Linked DNA regions of Homo sapiens: all the other regions are linked to region 4. The links are contacts of gene promoters, found by promoter capture Hi-C in blood cells and fetal thymus (Javierre and others, 2016). All regions are on one chromosome and are shown on one strand. The core of a region is centred on a gene start or on the middle of the fragment in contact, and the rest is flanking DNA. Distances in the headings are between cores, read along the strand shown. Region 1 holds the start of IPO4 (importin 4). Region 2 holds the start of CHMP4A (charged multivesicular body protein 4A). Region 3 holds the start of IRF9 (interferon regulatory factor 9). Region 4 overlaps BCL2L2-PABPN1 (BCL2L2-PABPN1 readthrough). Region 5 holds the start of TINF2 (TERF1 interacting nuclear factor 2).

Evidence for each region. The method cuts DNA at HindIII sites, captures the fragments that hold promoters and counts their contacts. A CHiCAGO score of 5 or more calls a contact.
Region 1: the fragment with the promoter of IPO4 here is called in contact with a fragment that was not itself captured in region 4 in 1 of 17 cell types (naive CD8 T cells); the score reaches 5.4 in naive CD8 T cells.
Region 2: the fragment with the promoter of CHMP4A here is called in contact with a fragment that was not itself captured in region 4 in 2 of 17 cell types (M1 macrophages and M2 macrophages); the score reaches 6.8 in M1 macrophages.
Region 3: a contact is called between the fragment with the promoter of IRF9 here and a fragment that was not itself captured in region 4, in 1 of 17 cell types (M0 macrophages). The highest score is 6.3, in M0 macrophages.
Region 5: the fragment with the promoter of TINF2 here is called in contact with a fragment that was not itself captured in region 4 in 1 of 17 cell types (non-activated CD4 T cells); the score reaches 7.1 in non-activated CD4 T cells.

What each region holds. Positions count from the first base shown.
Region 1 is chr14:24,187,444-24,190,143 of GRCh38, reverse strand. It overlaps IPO4 (importin 4), which reads left to right and starts at 1,328. Exons shown (of 30, transcript NM_024658.4): 1 at 1,328-1,425; 2 at 1,506-1,592; 3 at 1,721-1,800; 4 at 1,887-1,928; 5 at 2,348-2,477; 6 at 2,565-2,700. The coding sequence starts at 1,357. It overlaps TM9SF1 (transmembrane 9 superfamily member 1), which reads left to right. Exons shown (of 6, transcript NM_006405.7): 6 at 336-995. The coding sequence ends at 729. RefSeq lists silencers at 1,757-1,876, 2,122-2,332. The HindIII fragment of the contact is 6,803 bases long and covers 1-2,536 here.
Region 2 is chr14:24,212,126-24,214,825 of GRCh38, reverse strand. CHMP4A (charged multivesicular body protein 4A) reads left to right here and starts at 1,338. Exons shown (of 6, transcript NM_014169.5): 1 at 1,338-1,417. The coding sequence starts at 1,387. NEDD8-MDP1 (NEDD8-MDP1 readthrough) reads left to right here. Exons shown (of 7, transcript NM_001199823.3): 5 at 227-334; 6 at 431-516; 7 at 675-883. The coding sequence ends at 802. It overlaps MDP1 (magnesium dependent phosphatase 1), which reads left to right. Exons shown (of 6, transcript NM_138476.4): 4 at 227-334; 5 at 431-516; 6 at 675-883. The coding sequence ends at 802. RefSeq lists enhancers at 1-34, 1,189-1,483, 1,120-1,619, 1,047-1,855, 1,810-1,929. The HindIII fragment of the contact is 5,751 bases long and covers 646-2,700 here.
Region 3 is chr14:24,160,015-24,162,714 of GRCh38, reverse strand. It overlaps IRF9 (interferon regulatory factor 9), which reads right to left and starts at 1,450. Exons shown (of 9, transcript NM_006084.5): 1 at 1,377-1,450; 2 at 391-571. The coding sequence starts at 570. RNF31 (ring finger protein 31) reads right to left here. Exons shown (of 21, transcript NM_017999.5): 20 at 2,308-2,476; 21 at 2,060-2,195. The coding sequence ends at 2,142. RefSeq lists enhancers at 285-344, 1,334-1,723. The HindIII fragment of the contact is 4,395 bases long and covers 1-2,700 here.
Region 4 is chr14:23,307,461-23,310,160 of GRCh38, reverse strand. BCL2L2-PABPN1 (BCL2L2-PABPN1 readthrough) reads right to left here. Exons shown (of 8, transcript NM_001387346.1): 3 at 1,962-2,401. The coding sequence starts at 2,393. It overlaps BCL2L2 (BCL2 like 2), which reads right to left. Exons shown (of 4, transcript NM_004050.5): 3 at 1,962-2,401; 4 at 1-1,345. The coding sequence starts at 2,393. The coding sequence ends at 1,196. Among named protein-coding and RNA genes, the nearest start is that of BCL2L2-PABPN1, 2.0 kb to the right of the region's middle. RefSeq lists an enhancer at 1,636-2,469. The HindIII fragment of the contact is 1,163 bases long and covers 793-1,955 here.
Region 5 is chr14:24,241,373-24,244,072 of GRCh38, reverse strand. TINF2 (TERF1 interacting nuclear factor 2) reads left to right here and starts at 1,450. Exons shown (of 9, transcript NM_001099274.3): 1 at 1,450-1,932; 2 at 2,079-2,183; 3 at 2,297-2,398. The coding sequence starts at 1,741. RefSeq lists a silencer at 516-810 and enhancers at 1,002-1,301, 1,472-1,731, 1,802-2,021, 2,682-2,700. The HindIII fragment of the contact is 13,864 bases long and covers 1-2,700 here.

The DNA.
Region 1 (2,700 bases), core at 79-2,578, 880 kb before region 4:
TTAATGCCTATGGACATCATGTGGGGTTTAAAGCCCATTTGATGACCCATTTACTTTGTTGAATACCTCTTTGTGCCAGGCAAAGAATAAAGTGGAATAAAATGGACAAGATCCCTGCCCTCAATCTATTAGGGAAGATATTCTTGAAGTGAGAGCGGCTAATCATAGGCAAAAAATCCCCATGAAGCCAGGAGATCTGGGGCAGAGAGTGGAGTGAACTCACTTTTCACAATGACCCAGCAACATGGGAGAGGGTGGGGGCTGGATTTCAGCCCAGCCACTGTGCTGATGGTGCACAGCCCTTTAATGCTGTGTATCATCTCTTTTCTTCACAGTGCCATCTCTGTGGAGCTGTACTACATCTTTGCCACAGTATGGGGTCGGGAGCAGTACACTTTGTACGGCATCCTCTTCTTTGTCTTCGCCATCCTGCTGAGTGTGGGGGCTTGCATCTCCATTGCACTCACCTACTTCCAGTTGTCTGGGGAGGATTACCGCTGGTGGTGGCGATCTGTGCTGAGTGTTGGCTCCACCGGCCTCTTCATCTTCCTCTACTCAGTTTTCTATTATGCCCGGCGCTCCAACATGTCTGGGGCAGTACAGACAGTAGAGTTCTTCGGCTACTCCTTACTCACTGGTTATGTCTTCTTCCTCATGCTGGGCACCATCTCCTTTTTTTCTTCCCTAAAGTTCATCCGGTATATCTATGTTAACCTCAAGATGGACTGAGTTCTGTATGGCAGAACTATTGCTGTTCTCTCCCTTTCTTCATGCCCTGTTGAACTCTCCTACCAGCTTCTCTTCTGATTGACTGAATTGTGTGATGGCATTGTTGCCTTCCCTTTTGCCCTTTGGGCATTCCTTCCCCAGAGAGGGCCTGGAAATTATAAATCTCTATCACATAAGGATTATATATTTGAACTTTTTAAGTTGCCTTTAGTTTTGGTCCTGATTTTTCTTTTTACAATTACCAAAATAAAATTTATTAAGAAAAAGGCTCATGCAGTTGGAGGTTTTGGTCTGGATATAGGAACTCGAGCCCTGCTGTTAAGGGCACGGTCCTTTATAAAGCCGAGCTGGCCACTGAATGCCCGAAGCTCGAGTTCTCCAACCCAGCTTGGGAACTCCCGGCGTGGGGAACCTACATTGCCAGAGTCGGGTTTCCGCGATTCAGCCGGTGCTCAGCCTAACGGAAGTGGAGGAGCCGGACCTCTTTGTGGGAAGCGAATTGAATCACCTTGGCAACCCGCGGGGCGTGCAGCAACGCCCTTTCCTCCGGAAGTGGGTGTCAGAACCTCCACGTGCTGTCCCTCCCCCTCCCCTTTTCGGCCCAGTAGCGGCGGCTCAGTTGCTGCCATGGAGTCAGCCGGGCTAGAGCAGCTCCTACGGGAGCTGCTGCTACCGGACACCGAGCGCATCCGTCGGGTACGGAGCAGGCGTAACCGGGCCAGGGCGAGCGGGAGGTTGCGGGAAAGGCCCAACTCTCACCCCTAGCTTCCCCCCAGGCCACGGAACAGCTCCAGATCGTTCTTCGGGCCCCCGCCGCTTTGCCGGCTCTCTGCGACCTGCTAGCCTCGGCGGCCGACCCCCAGGTGAGACCCCTGACTCTCCCCTCCGAGCTTCCCACTGTACGCCACCGGTCAAGCCCCAGTATTCGCCCACTGCGGTCCGCTCAGCACCTTCCTGCCCGGACCCCCACGTGCTTGCTTCCTCGTCCTAGATCCGCCAGTTTGCGGCCGTGCTGACCCGCAGACGACTGAACACCCGCTGGCGACGGCTGGCGGCGGAGCAACGGGAGAGGTGGGCTGGGCCTGGGGTGGGGCGGGGCCAGGCGGAGACTTTTCTTGGGCAGGCTGGGTACCAAACACCTGCCACCTGTGTTCCAGCCTCAAGTCCCTGATCCTGACGGCCCTGCAGAGAGAAACAGAGTAAGTACCTACCCACTTCTCTCGGGATCTTGACGACTTTGTCTAGGTTTCTGCCTTCCTTTTCGGCTCCAGGCTGGGACTTGTGGGGCAGGGACTTCAGTTCTAGACGCAAGGTGGAGTGAGGATTTTAAGGCTGTTTTGAAGACTAAAGTTCTTGAGGAAGGGTGATGATGATCTGCCAAACCCAAGTCAGAAGAATAAGACTGAAATTCAGGCTAAGTTAGACTGAACTTACCAGATTACATGCCCACAGTGCTGTTGGGCTCCCTCTGAGCTGCTGTCTCATGTGTCCCAACTTGGCAAAGACCCTGTGCCCACACCTCCTGAAAGTTTCTGTCCTGGCTGCCCCATTGAGCCTGGCCACTGTGTGCAGAGGAAGGTATTGAAGGGTGATTGGAGGAGATCTCTCCTGTTTGCAGGCACTGTGTGAGCCTCAGCCTGGCCCAGCTCTCAGCCACCATTTTTCGAAAGGAAGGCTTGGAGGCCTGGCCACAGCTTTTGCAGCTGCTTCAGCACAGTACCCACAGCCCCCACAGCCCAGAGAGAGAGGTACCATCACATGGTTGGCAGGAGGGAGGGCCTGAGAGGCTGGATAGACCTTGTAAGCTTGCTCTCCCATCCTCTATTCTTGGACAGATGGGGCTTTTGCTGCTAAGTGTGGTGGTGACCTCCCGGCCCGAGGCCTTCCAACCCCACCACCGGGAGCTTCTTCGGCTTCTGAATGAGACTCTTGGTGAGGTGGGCTCTCCTGGGCTGCTCTTCTACTCCCTGC
Region 2 (2,700 bases), core at 89-2,588, 900 kb before region 4:
GGGCAACAGAGCTAGACCCTGTCTCAAAACAAAAGCTAAAACATTGGCCCAGCACCAATTGTGTCAAATAGGAAGGCAATGGAGTTAAACAGAGGCTGAGGATGCCTGTCCATCCCGGAAAAACAGCAAGTTGATTTCCCTGGTTATACTTACTAACTTTGCTTAATAAGTTAACGTAGCCCTGGCCCTTCACTTTGCTAATCCCATCTTTTACACCGTTTTGCAGGACAAGTGAGATAGAAGGGGCCAACCAGCTACTGGAGCTCTTTGACCTCTTCAGGTACTTTGTTCATCGGGAAATCTATCCAGGCAGCAAGATCACACACTTTGAGAGGTATGCGGAGATAAGGGAGGAGCAGGGTGAGAAAGTATCAGAGAGGCCTGGGAAACCAAGATACTAGCTTGGTTACTCCTGCCCTGTCTTGAATAGGTTGCAGCAGAAGACTGGAATTCCTTTCTCCCAGATGATCTTCTTTGATGATGAGAGGCGGAATATTGTAGACGTCAGCAAACTGGGTACTGAGTGATGAGGAACAGCCATTTGGGGTCCCTAGGAGGGATTAGGTAGATACATACAGGTTGGATAGTTTGCCCTATAGGTGGCACTCACAAAGGTCAGAGTAATAATGGAGAACCCTGAAAGCTTAATGAAATGTGACTTCTTATCTTTCTAGGTGTTACCTGCATTCACATCCAGAATGGAATGAATCTTCAAACTCTAAGTCAAGGGTTAGAGACATTTGCGAAGGCCCAAACTGGGCCTTTGAGGTCCAGCCTTGAGGAGAGCCCATTTGAGGCCTAAACTGAAAGGAAATCAAGAAGGCATTTTCAGGTGCATTTGTAATTTATTAAAGTTCATCTGTGTGTGACAGAAGAGATTTTACCCACAGTGTGGGGAGTTTCTATTTTTCTAGCCTGTGAAATGGGGTTGGTTGTCCTGAGGTGCAGAGACCAGAATGTGAGACATTAGACTGCATCAGGTTTGCCATCTAAACTTAGGGCAACCCCAAGTGCTTGAACCTATACCACCCCACTTTCCTGAGCTCTGTAAAGAGCATGAAGTTTTCCCACTGACCCCATACACTGAGGTGCCATCACACTGCACATTTCCTTCCGGAGAACAAGCACGTACTCAGGTGGAGATAGAACTGTCTTTTTACTTAATAGAAAATGATGTGGCAGCTTTAAGAGGAGCGCGTCGGTCTGGGGCTGGTGGCTTGGGTCACGTGACACCGGTGGTCTCGTTTGCGCCTCTTGATGTCGCGGCGGCGCCCTGAGGACGGATTGGGCAAGGCTGGTCCCTGTGTGATGAGACATCACCCTCCCAGGAGCAAGGCGGAAGTCTGGAGGACGCTGAGGGGCGGAGGCGGGAGAGGCGAGCTCGCGATGAGTGGTCTCGGCAGGCTCTTCGGGAAGGGTGAGCCAGGGTGGGACTGGCCAGCCAGGAGGCGCTGGCTGGTGCAGGGGAAGAGGAGACCCCGGCGAGATTCGGCCGGACCGCTGCGCCGGGCAGGGGAAGAGAATCAGGAGACAGGCTGACTGGAAAACCCCGGCGGCCGATGGCGGAGCAAGGCTCATCGCCGGTGCCAAAAGGCACACCATGTCGGGGCGCCTTGTTCCCGTCCGCCGTCCTCCCCCACTCTCAGAGGGAAGAACTCAAGATCTGGGAGGGGACTTGAGTTGAGGGCGTGGCGATCGTGCTGACTCCCACTGTTCAGGCTTGAAGACGAGTTTCCTGCTGTCTTCAGCCATTTTCAAAACCTTGTTCTATAATACTTTGTGCTGGGCAAGAGGGATCTAAGGTGAAGAAGAAAGACTGCCTTCTTAGCCCGGCGCGGGGGCTCACGCCTGTACTCGCAACACTTTGGGAGGCCGACGTGGGTGGATCATGAGGTCAGGAGTTTGAGATCAGCCTGGCCAATATGGTGAAACCCCGTCTCTACTAAAAATATAAAAATTGGCCGGGCGCGGTGGCTCACGCCTGTAATCCCAGCACTTTGGGAGGCCGAGGTGGGTGGATCACCTGAGGTCAAGAGTTCGAGACCAGCCTGGACAACATGGTGAAACCTTGTCTCTACTAAAAATACAAAAAAAAAAAAAAAATTAGCTGGTTGTGGTGGCACGCGCCTGTAGTCCCAGCTACTGGGGGAGGCTGAGACAGGTGAATCGCTTGAACCCAGGAGGCGGAGGTTGTAGTGAGCCAAGATTGCACCAATGCACTCCAGCCTTGGTGACAGAGGGAGACTCCATTCTCAAAAAAAAAAAAAAAAATTAGGTGGGCATGATGGTGTGTGCCTGTAGTCCCAGCTACTCAGGGAGGCTGAGGCAGGAGAATCACTTGAACCCGGGAGACGGAGGTTGCAATGAGCTGAGATCATGCCACTGCACTCTGGCCTGGGCAACAGAGCGAGACTCTGTCTCAAAAAAAGAAGTCCTGGCGCGGTGGCTCATGCCTGTAATCAAAACACTTTGGGAGGCCGAGGCGGGCAGATCACCTGAGGTTGGGAGTTCGACACCAGCCTGACCAACATGGAGAAAGCCTGTCTGTACTAAAAACACAAAAAATTAGCCAGGCATGGTGGCACATGCCTGTGATCCCAGCTATTTGGGAGGCTGAGGCAGGAGAATTGCTTGAACCCAGGAGGCGGAGGTTGAGGTGAGCTGAGATCACGCCATTGCGTTCCAGCCTGGGCAACAAGA
Region 3 (2,700 bases), core at 201-2,700, 850 kb before region 4:
GATTCTCCTGCCTCAGTCTCCCGAGTAGCTGGGACTACAGGCATGCACCGCTAGGCCCAGCTAAGTTTTGTATTTTTAGTAGAGACAGGGTTTCACCATGTTGGCCAGGCTGGTCTTGATCTCTTGACCTCGTGATCCACCCACCTTGGCCTCCCGAAGTGCTGGGATTACAGGCGTGAGCCACCGTGCCTGGCCAATATCCCTAAAATTTTTGAACAAGGCCTCCACATTTTCATTTTGTACTGGACTCTGCAAATGATGCAGCTAGTTTTCCTCTCCAATCTGTCCCTTATCTGAAACCCAGGCAGACGCAAGTGCTCGAGGATGAGTGTACCAGTGTGTATACACCATCCCACACACAGAGGAACAGTGGTTTCCAGGCCCTTTCACCTTGAAGAAGGCAGCATCCTGGTCCTCCCGGAAGTCCTGCTTGCCTGCATGTTTCCAGGGAATCCGGAACATGGTCTTAGCTGTATCATCCCAGCACACTCCGGGAAACTGCCCACTCTCCACTTGCTCCACCACCCAGTTCCGGAGTTTTCGGGTGCAGCGTGCCCTGCCTGATGCCATCCTGGGGGATAATAGGAGCAGGATGCATCAGAACTGACACTTTGGGAGGGAACATCTCCTGAGACCCTGGCCATTGAGACTAGATTCTGGCAACAGGTCCCAGAGATCCCATCCATCTTCTTTTAGCTCCAAACACATTTCAACACTCTATGGGACAGAATTGTTTCCTTTCTGCCATCACTAGCAGTGACAAACAACAACAACAACAACAAAACCCCCCAAAACATTGTTTTTAGCACTCTAAGCTGTGATACCTGGAAGGAAACCTTGGGCACTGGTCTTAATTTTAGGACTTTTCAGAGATGTATTGTTTACAAAAGAATTCCTTTGGTGATCGTTCCTGGTGACAGGCCCTGTCTAGATTCCCGAGCATCAGCAGAGGTAGGTTCTGCTGAGATCCATCAGGCTCTTCACCCACCGCCCCACAGCCTACACAACCTAGCCTGACCCCCACCCCCTGCCGGCCCCAGGAGTAGGTGGGGCAGGAAGTAGGGGTGGGGTTGGAGCTGCAGCAGAAGTGGGCAGGGCCAGATGGCAAGGAAACAAATGGTCCACTGAGGCTGGGGCCAGGAGCCTTCTTCCTTGAACAATCCAGCAGTAGGTCCTCCTGACCTTTGCCTACAAGGGTCTGGGGAGCTGGCCCTTGTCAGTCTCACTCTCAGGCTGAATCTCCCACTTCCTGACTTAAGAGATCTTCTGTCTATCCCTCAGTCTAACAGAGCGACCCCTAGGACCCCCTGCCCTCAATCTGGCTGGACTTTCTAGCCCTAGATCCCAGGCTGACTCCCATCCTTGGCTGATCTTACCTGAGTTGCTGTCCAGGCTGTCGCAGGGCTCAGACGACCTCAGCTTAACTCCTGGCTGGGCGGCTGATCTCTCCGCCCCTTTCTACAGTCCCCACCCTAAGTTTCAGTTCTCCTCCAGGGAGGGCCTTTTCCCAGAAATCACGTGGTCTGAGTTGCAGGGAACTGGCGGCCACTAGAGGGCAGCAGCATCTGAGCATCTCACTATCAGGATGCCACTGTCGCAGCAGGGGGGCCCTGCCCTGCTGGCTCAGCTCCAGCCTGGCTCATTCCCCTGCCTCCCTCAGATACTCTTGCTTCTATCTGACCTCTGGGTGACACCGTGGCTTCCCCAGGGAGGCCAGTTTCCTGGAGTCAGGCCTGGGACCTCTGGACTGCTGTGTACACCTGTGCATCTGCATTCCCCCACAGTGCCCACCTGATACATATTGGGTGACTTCAAATACCAGTCAAATTCTATGAAAGGAAAAAAGGAGGCAGGGAGGGAGGAAGCCCAGGCCAGGCTGCTGGATGGGGAGGGCCTCCCTTGACCATCCAGGGTGTCAACTCCTTCCTGGTCCTGAGTCCAGGGAGGGTCAGGCACTAGGTTGCAGGGGGCCCTTTTCAGCAAAGCTCTGTTCACCCCGCTCTTTCCCTGGTGCCCCTAGATGGTGGCACCAGGAAGAAGGACCACCAAGAAGCCTGGGTGGTAAGATGCCTCTTTATTGGTGCTGGAGCTGTTCCTGAGGGAGCAGGCCATGGGACCCTCATCGGGACCCTTGCCCTCAGCTACTTCCGCCTGCGGGGGATACTCTGTCCCAAGGGTACCTCTTCTGTCAGCTTCTGCAGAAGGAGAGAGAAGGTAATGATATTGGAAGCCTGGAGCTCAGACACAGTCAGCACCAGGTGACTTCTGTAGGGTGGGTTAAGAGATGAGGCTGGGTGGAGGCTATACCTGTAACAAGCGGGCCTGGTAAGCAGGGGGATCCTCTCCAGCCAAAGGCTGGGGGCGTACGTGCAGGTAGCGCTCAGTGGCCGTCTCCAGCTCTTCCACCTCATACAAGGTGGCTGGGTCCAGCGAGTGGGCATTGATGAGGCTCACAAGATACTCTTTGTAGTGTGCCCTGGGGAGAAAAGGGAGCAGAATATTTGTTGTGTTGGCTAATATTAACTGAGTGTGTCTAACATAGCTGGACTCTGAGACACCTGGACGAACAAGATTAACAACCCACCTGTGCCCACACTGCCTGCTACTATCTACCCATGCCCTTGCCCAGAAAGCCTCCTCCCTCCCACCCACTGCAAGACCTACTGCTCCCAAGGACCCATTTTACTGCCTGGGCATGCC
Region 4 (2,700 bases), core at 125-2,624:
ATAAATGCTTCTAGGTCATGGTAGGTACTCTAGAACCCATATGCCTGGCCCCTGATAAAGCCGAACCAAAGCCCACAACACAGCATAGGCCAGTCCTGGAGTACCCATCACCCTCACACCCATGGGATTCAGATCTGAAATGGTCATCTCAAGGCATCAACAGTCTCACTGAGACACAGTGTGGGACCCAGACTGTATTCTAGATCAGCACTTATGCCCACAACCTCAAAAGGAAAATTAGTTAGGGCCCCAATTTAGAGTTTCAGTTTGGGTACAGAGGTCCCAGAGATTGGAAACACTTTAGGCACCATTGTGCCTGAGTGGGAGAGGAGGGTGGCAGGCAGGTCCGGCTACCTAAGCCTCCACCCATCCAGGCTCAACAGCCCTGCCCTTCTATCAGAGCCCAGGAGGCAGCAGCAAGTGCATAATGCACAAGGAAGGGGGATGATGAAGGAACAAGGCCAGCTGCAGAACTGCTCTTCTCTCCAAAGCCTTGCCAATCACTTTCTGGAAAGAAGCAGCAGAGCCCTCGGTCTGGATACAATGTTTCTCTCTAAGCCTTGAGGCATCAGGACAAGGGCAGGGGAAAGGAGGGGTTGGGAGGAGGGACAGAGAACTGCCCCTAGTTCTTGCCATTGCAAGAGGGAATGTTTTCTCCTTGAGGAATCCCATCACCACCAGATTTGCCAGGCAGCCCAGCATGCACACCAGCATGCGTGCACATGCACACGCGTGTCCAAGCAGCCCACTGTTAACAGCCACCTCTCCCTATCACCTGAGAACCCCTAAGCTTCCATTCCAAAGGGATGTGCCTTCTGCGTTCCCTAAATCCCACTCATCTAATGGAATACAGCTGCTTATGTAAGTCCACCTTCCTCAGGGCTGTGAAGCAAGTTCCAGGTCGTTTCATGTGCCCACACCTATAGGCGTGATCCCTCCCACCTCCCCCAGCCCTGGAACGACTACATCTCCTGTGCCCCTAAACTTGCCAAAACATTCCCCTCCCCTCTGTGTCCTGCTCACTCTTCCAATCGCCTACCTGGCCTACTCAGCTCCCTCACACACTACCCTTTCTCTGCCCATCCTGTTCCATGCCCACCCATCCACCAACTCCACTTCTTCCAAGGGCATTTCTCTGTTCTGTTCCTGCTCTCCTGGCCCCCAGCCACACCTAGCCCCACCTGGCCCTGGACTTTCACTTGCTAGCAAAAAAGGCCCCTACAGTTACCAGGGCCCCCAGTGCCACGGCCCCCGTCAGCACTGTCCTCACTGATGCCCAGTTCCCCTCCCGCAGACGCCGCGCCTCCTCCAGGGCCCCGTCCCCGTATAGAGCTGTGAACTCCGCCTGTGGGAGAGAAGGGAAGCAGGAGAGAAAGAAGGAGAAAGGGATATCAGGAGAGGAAAGAGTGGAGAGAAGAGGAGAGGAAGAGTTCCAGTTCCATCCACTGCGAGCACTACCCCATACCCAGCTCCTCTCTGGCCAAAGCTCTTCTCCCTGCAAGCCCCTCTGATCCCCCCAGGTGCACCCCCACCCTGAGAGACTGGTTCATCTGCCCACTCTGCCTCCAGTGAATTCCATCCTTTCCTTGGCGAAAAATTCTGCTCAGAACTAGCATCCTTTGCCAAGGCTTGCCTGACCACCACCCATCCCTGGTCCTCCCCACCTCCCACGCCATGACTCAGATGTAAAAAGTCCCTGACAACATTCCCCTGCAGGCACTCCTTGGGTGTGTATTCTGTCCTCTGCTTGGGACCATGAGCCCATCCAGTGTTGACTGCATGGCAGCCCTGGAGTGCAGAGTCCAGGCATCTCTCAATCTAATTCCATCCAGACGGGGAGACTCAGCCCCGTACCTCATTCCCAACATAGCTGCCTCAGCCTCCAATCAGAGCCCCCATCTTCCCCCTGGAGACCAGCTTTGCAGAAGGATGTGCAGAGCGGCAATTGAGAAGCTTCTTACCCAGCCCCCACTGCTGTGGATCCAGTCAGCCAGCTGCGTCTCCAGGTAGGCCACCATCCACTCCTGCACTTGTCCCACCAGTGGTTCCATCTCCTTGTTGACACTCTCAGCACACAGTGCAGCCCCAAAGACAAAGAAGGCTACAAGGCGGCCCCAGTTGGGGCCCCCTTGAAAAAGTTCATCGGAGACCTGGGTGAAGCGTTGTTGGGCTGAGCCTGGGGTCACATGCAGCTGAGCCGCCAGATCAGAGAAGGTGCGCCGGAAGCGGGTCTCGAACTCATCTCCAGCTGCCCGCATGGCTTGGTGCAGCGGGTCAGCTGCTGGGCCCTCCCCGGGGCCAGCTCCACAGACATAACCCTTCTGCCTCAGCTTATAACCTACAAAGTCTGCCACCAGAGCCCGTGTGTCTGGGGCCGAGGCTGGGGTCGCCATCCGGGCGGCTATAAGAGGCAAGGATGAAAGACTGGCATGAATATATGAAGAGAGAATCAGAAGGAGCACTTCTGGTTTGACCAACCCAGTGAGATGAGGAGGAGAGAGGAAATGCTCAGGACTCACTGGACAGGGAGAGGCAAGAACAAGGGAATTAAGTCATGATATGAGACTAGGCTGTGAGTGGCTGGCCATTACATTCCTAATATGCCAAATTAAATGTAAAACAAGTAAATTTTCTGTTTAGGATACTTTAGATTCTTTTCACAATAAGACAACGTCAGCTCAATGACACCCCTACAACACC
Region 5 (2,700 bases), core at 201-2,700, 930 kb before region 4:
GAATTTCACACATATCCAATTTGGGGTACTTTGGGACTGGGTGTTTCTTGGGCAGTCGAATGTGCGGATCAGCTGAGACTGATCCGGGGCGGAGACAAGGATGTGTGAACCATTATCTCTGGGAATGGAAGACATGGGCTAAAGACGGAGCAGTTTCACTAAATCCTTGTAAGGTGGTCAAGGCAGGCAACTAATCCAGCCAACAATTAAGGAGTGTAAGCTGTGTGTTAGGTTCTGTGCTTGCTGATGGAAATGAGAGGCACCAGGAAGCCTGTGGAAGAGACAGTCAAGGAGAGCAGTCAATTACATTAGGGGGCTGACAAGTTCAGTGCACAACAGAATCCTAAAACAAGAAACTAATTTGTGTGTGTGTGTGAGACCCCGTCTCACTCTATCACTCAGGCTGGAGTGCAGTCACTGAAGCCTCAACCTCCCTGGCTCAAACAATCCTCCCAACTCAGCCTCCTGAGTAGCTGGGACTACAGGCGTGCCACTACGCCCGGCTAGTTTTTTTGATTTTCAGTAGAGACAGGTTATCGCCATGTGATCCAGTCTGGTCTGGAACTCCTGGGCTCAAGCGGATCGATCCTCCCCTCTCGGCCTCTCAGAGTGCTGGGATTACAGGTGTGAGTCACCGTGCCCCCAGCCTGTATTCTATTTCTTCTTCTTCCTCTTTTTTTTTTTTTTTTTTTCTTTGAGAGAGATTCTCCCTCTGTCGCCCAGGCTGGAATGCAGAGGCAAGATCGCGGCTCACTGCCACCTCCCGTCTACTGGGTTCAAGCGATTCTCCTGCCTCGGCCTCCCGAGTAGCTGGGATTACAGGCGCCTGCCACCACGCCCAGCTAATTTTTGTACTTTTAGCAGAGAAGGGGTTTCACCATGTCGCCCAGGCTTGTCTGGAGCTCCTGGGCTCAAGTGACCCTCCTGCCTCGGCCTCTCAAAGCGCTGGGATTAGACACAAGCCACCACGCCCAGCCTGTATTTTATTTTTTAAGGGCGGGCGCCCTCTTCTGTTTTATAAAAGGAACAGTCGAATTCCTACTGGAAGCGACGCGCGCAGAGGGGAAGGCTTTGTAGACGCCGGCTCGGGTCTGGAATTTAAAGAACTAAATTTCGATGGGTGAAGACAGTGGGAAAGGGCGGTGGCATGATCCTCGTTTTACAGACTAGGAAGTCGAGCCTCACGGGAGTGACGGGGCTTCTCCGCAGGCTCCGCGAAGAAAGCAAGGCTGGGAGGACCCAGACGAACGGCCACAACAGCCTCAGCGGCCACGACAGCCTCAGCCGCCAACTCATGTCAGCCGGCAGAGAGTGCAGGAAGCGGGCAGCTACAGCTCCGCTGGGGCGTGGCCTTCTGACGCACCGTCACGGTTCCCTCTGTGGCCGCCCATTGGCTCCCTCTTACCGCCCTTTTCCGGGGCAAGGGAAGCTAGTAGCGGAGCCGGAAGTGAGGCACCCTCGGGCTCGAGACAGCGGCGACGTTTAAAGCTGAGCGACCCAGTGCCACTGGAGACGGTCAGCTTCTCCACTCAGGCTCCTCCAGCCCGAGCCAGAAGACCCCCTCCCCCAGAATTCTGGGGGCCGATGGAAGGGAGCCGAGTCAGATCGCGAGGTACCCAGAGCCGACAGACCGGAGCGACAGGGAGTTGCCAGAAGCCCCGCCCCTAGGAGTGATCGGAAAGCCTCACCCATCCGGGTGAGGAACCCGGAGGGACCGCCTCCGGGCGGAGCCCGCCGACCATGGCTACGCCCCTGGTGGCGGGTCCCGCAGCTCTACGCTTCGCCGCCGCGGCTAGCTGGCAGGTTGTGCGCGGACGCTGCGTGGAACATTTTCCGCGAGTACTGGAGTTTCTGCGATCTCTGCGCGCTGTTGCCCCTGGCTTGGTTCGCTACCGGCACCACGAACGCCTTTGTATGGGCCTAAAGGCCAAGGTATTGGAGCAAGTAGGACCTGGAAGGGGAAAGAAAGAAAGGGGCGGGATGCGAGCACCTGACAAGGGCCCACAGCTTGGGGATGAGACTAGTTGGAAAAGGTCAGCTTGCCCCGAAGTGGGGATTCTGAATTCAGTACCGTACAGGTGGTGGTGGAGCTGATCCTGCAGGGCCGGCCTTGGGCCCAAGTCCTGAAAGCCCTGAATCACCACTTTCCAGAATCTGGACCTATAGTGCGGGATCCCAAGGCTGTGAGTAATCCCCGGAACAAGCCCTGACCCCAGTTACACTTGGTGCAGCAAAGTTGCTCCTCCTGTCTACTGGATGTTGGTGCTAACTTCTCTGTCTTCTGTATCCTCAACAGACAAAGCAGGATCTGAGGAAGATTTTGGAGGCACAGGAAACTTTTTACCAGCAGGTGAAGCAGCTGTCAGAGGCTCCTGTGGATTTGGCCTCGAAGCTGCAGGTGAGACTGGTTTGAAGGCTATTATGTGGCTATTTTCTCTAACCCATTTTTTTTTTTTTTTGAGGAATCTTGCTCTGTCGCCCAGGCTGGAGTGCAGTGGCACAATCTCGGCTCACTGCAACCTCTGCCTCCCGGGTTCAAGCGATTCTCCTGCCTCAGCCTCCCGAGTAGCTGGGATTACAAATGCCCAGCTAATTTTTGTATTTTAGTAGAGATGGGGTTTCACCATGTTGGCCAGGCTGGTCTCGAACTCCTGACCTCAAGTGATCCGCCCACCTCGGCCTCCCAAATGGCCAGGATTA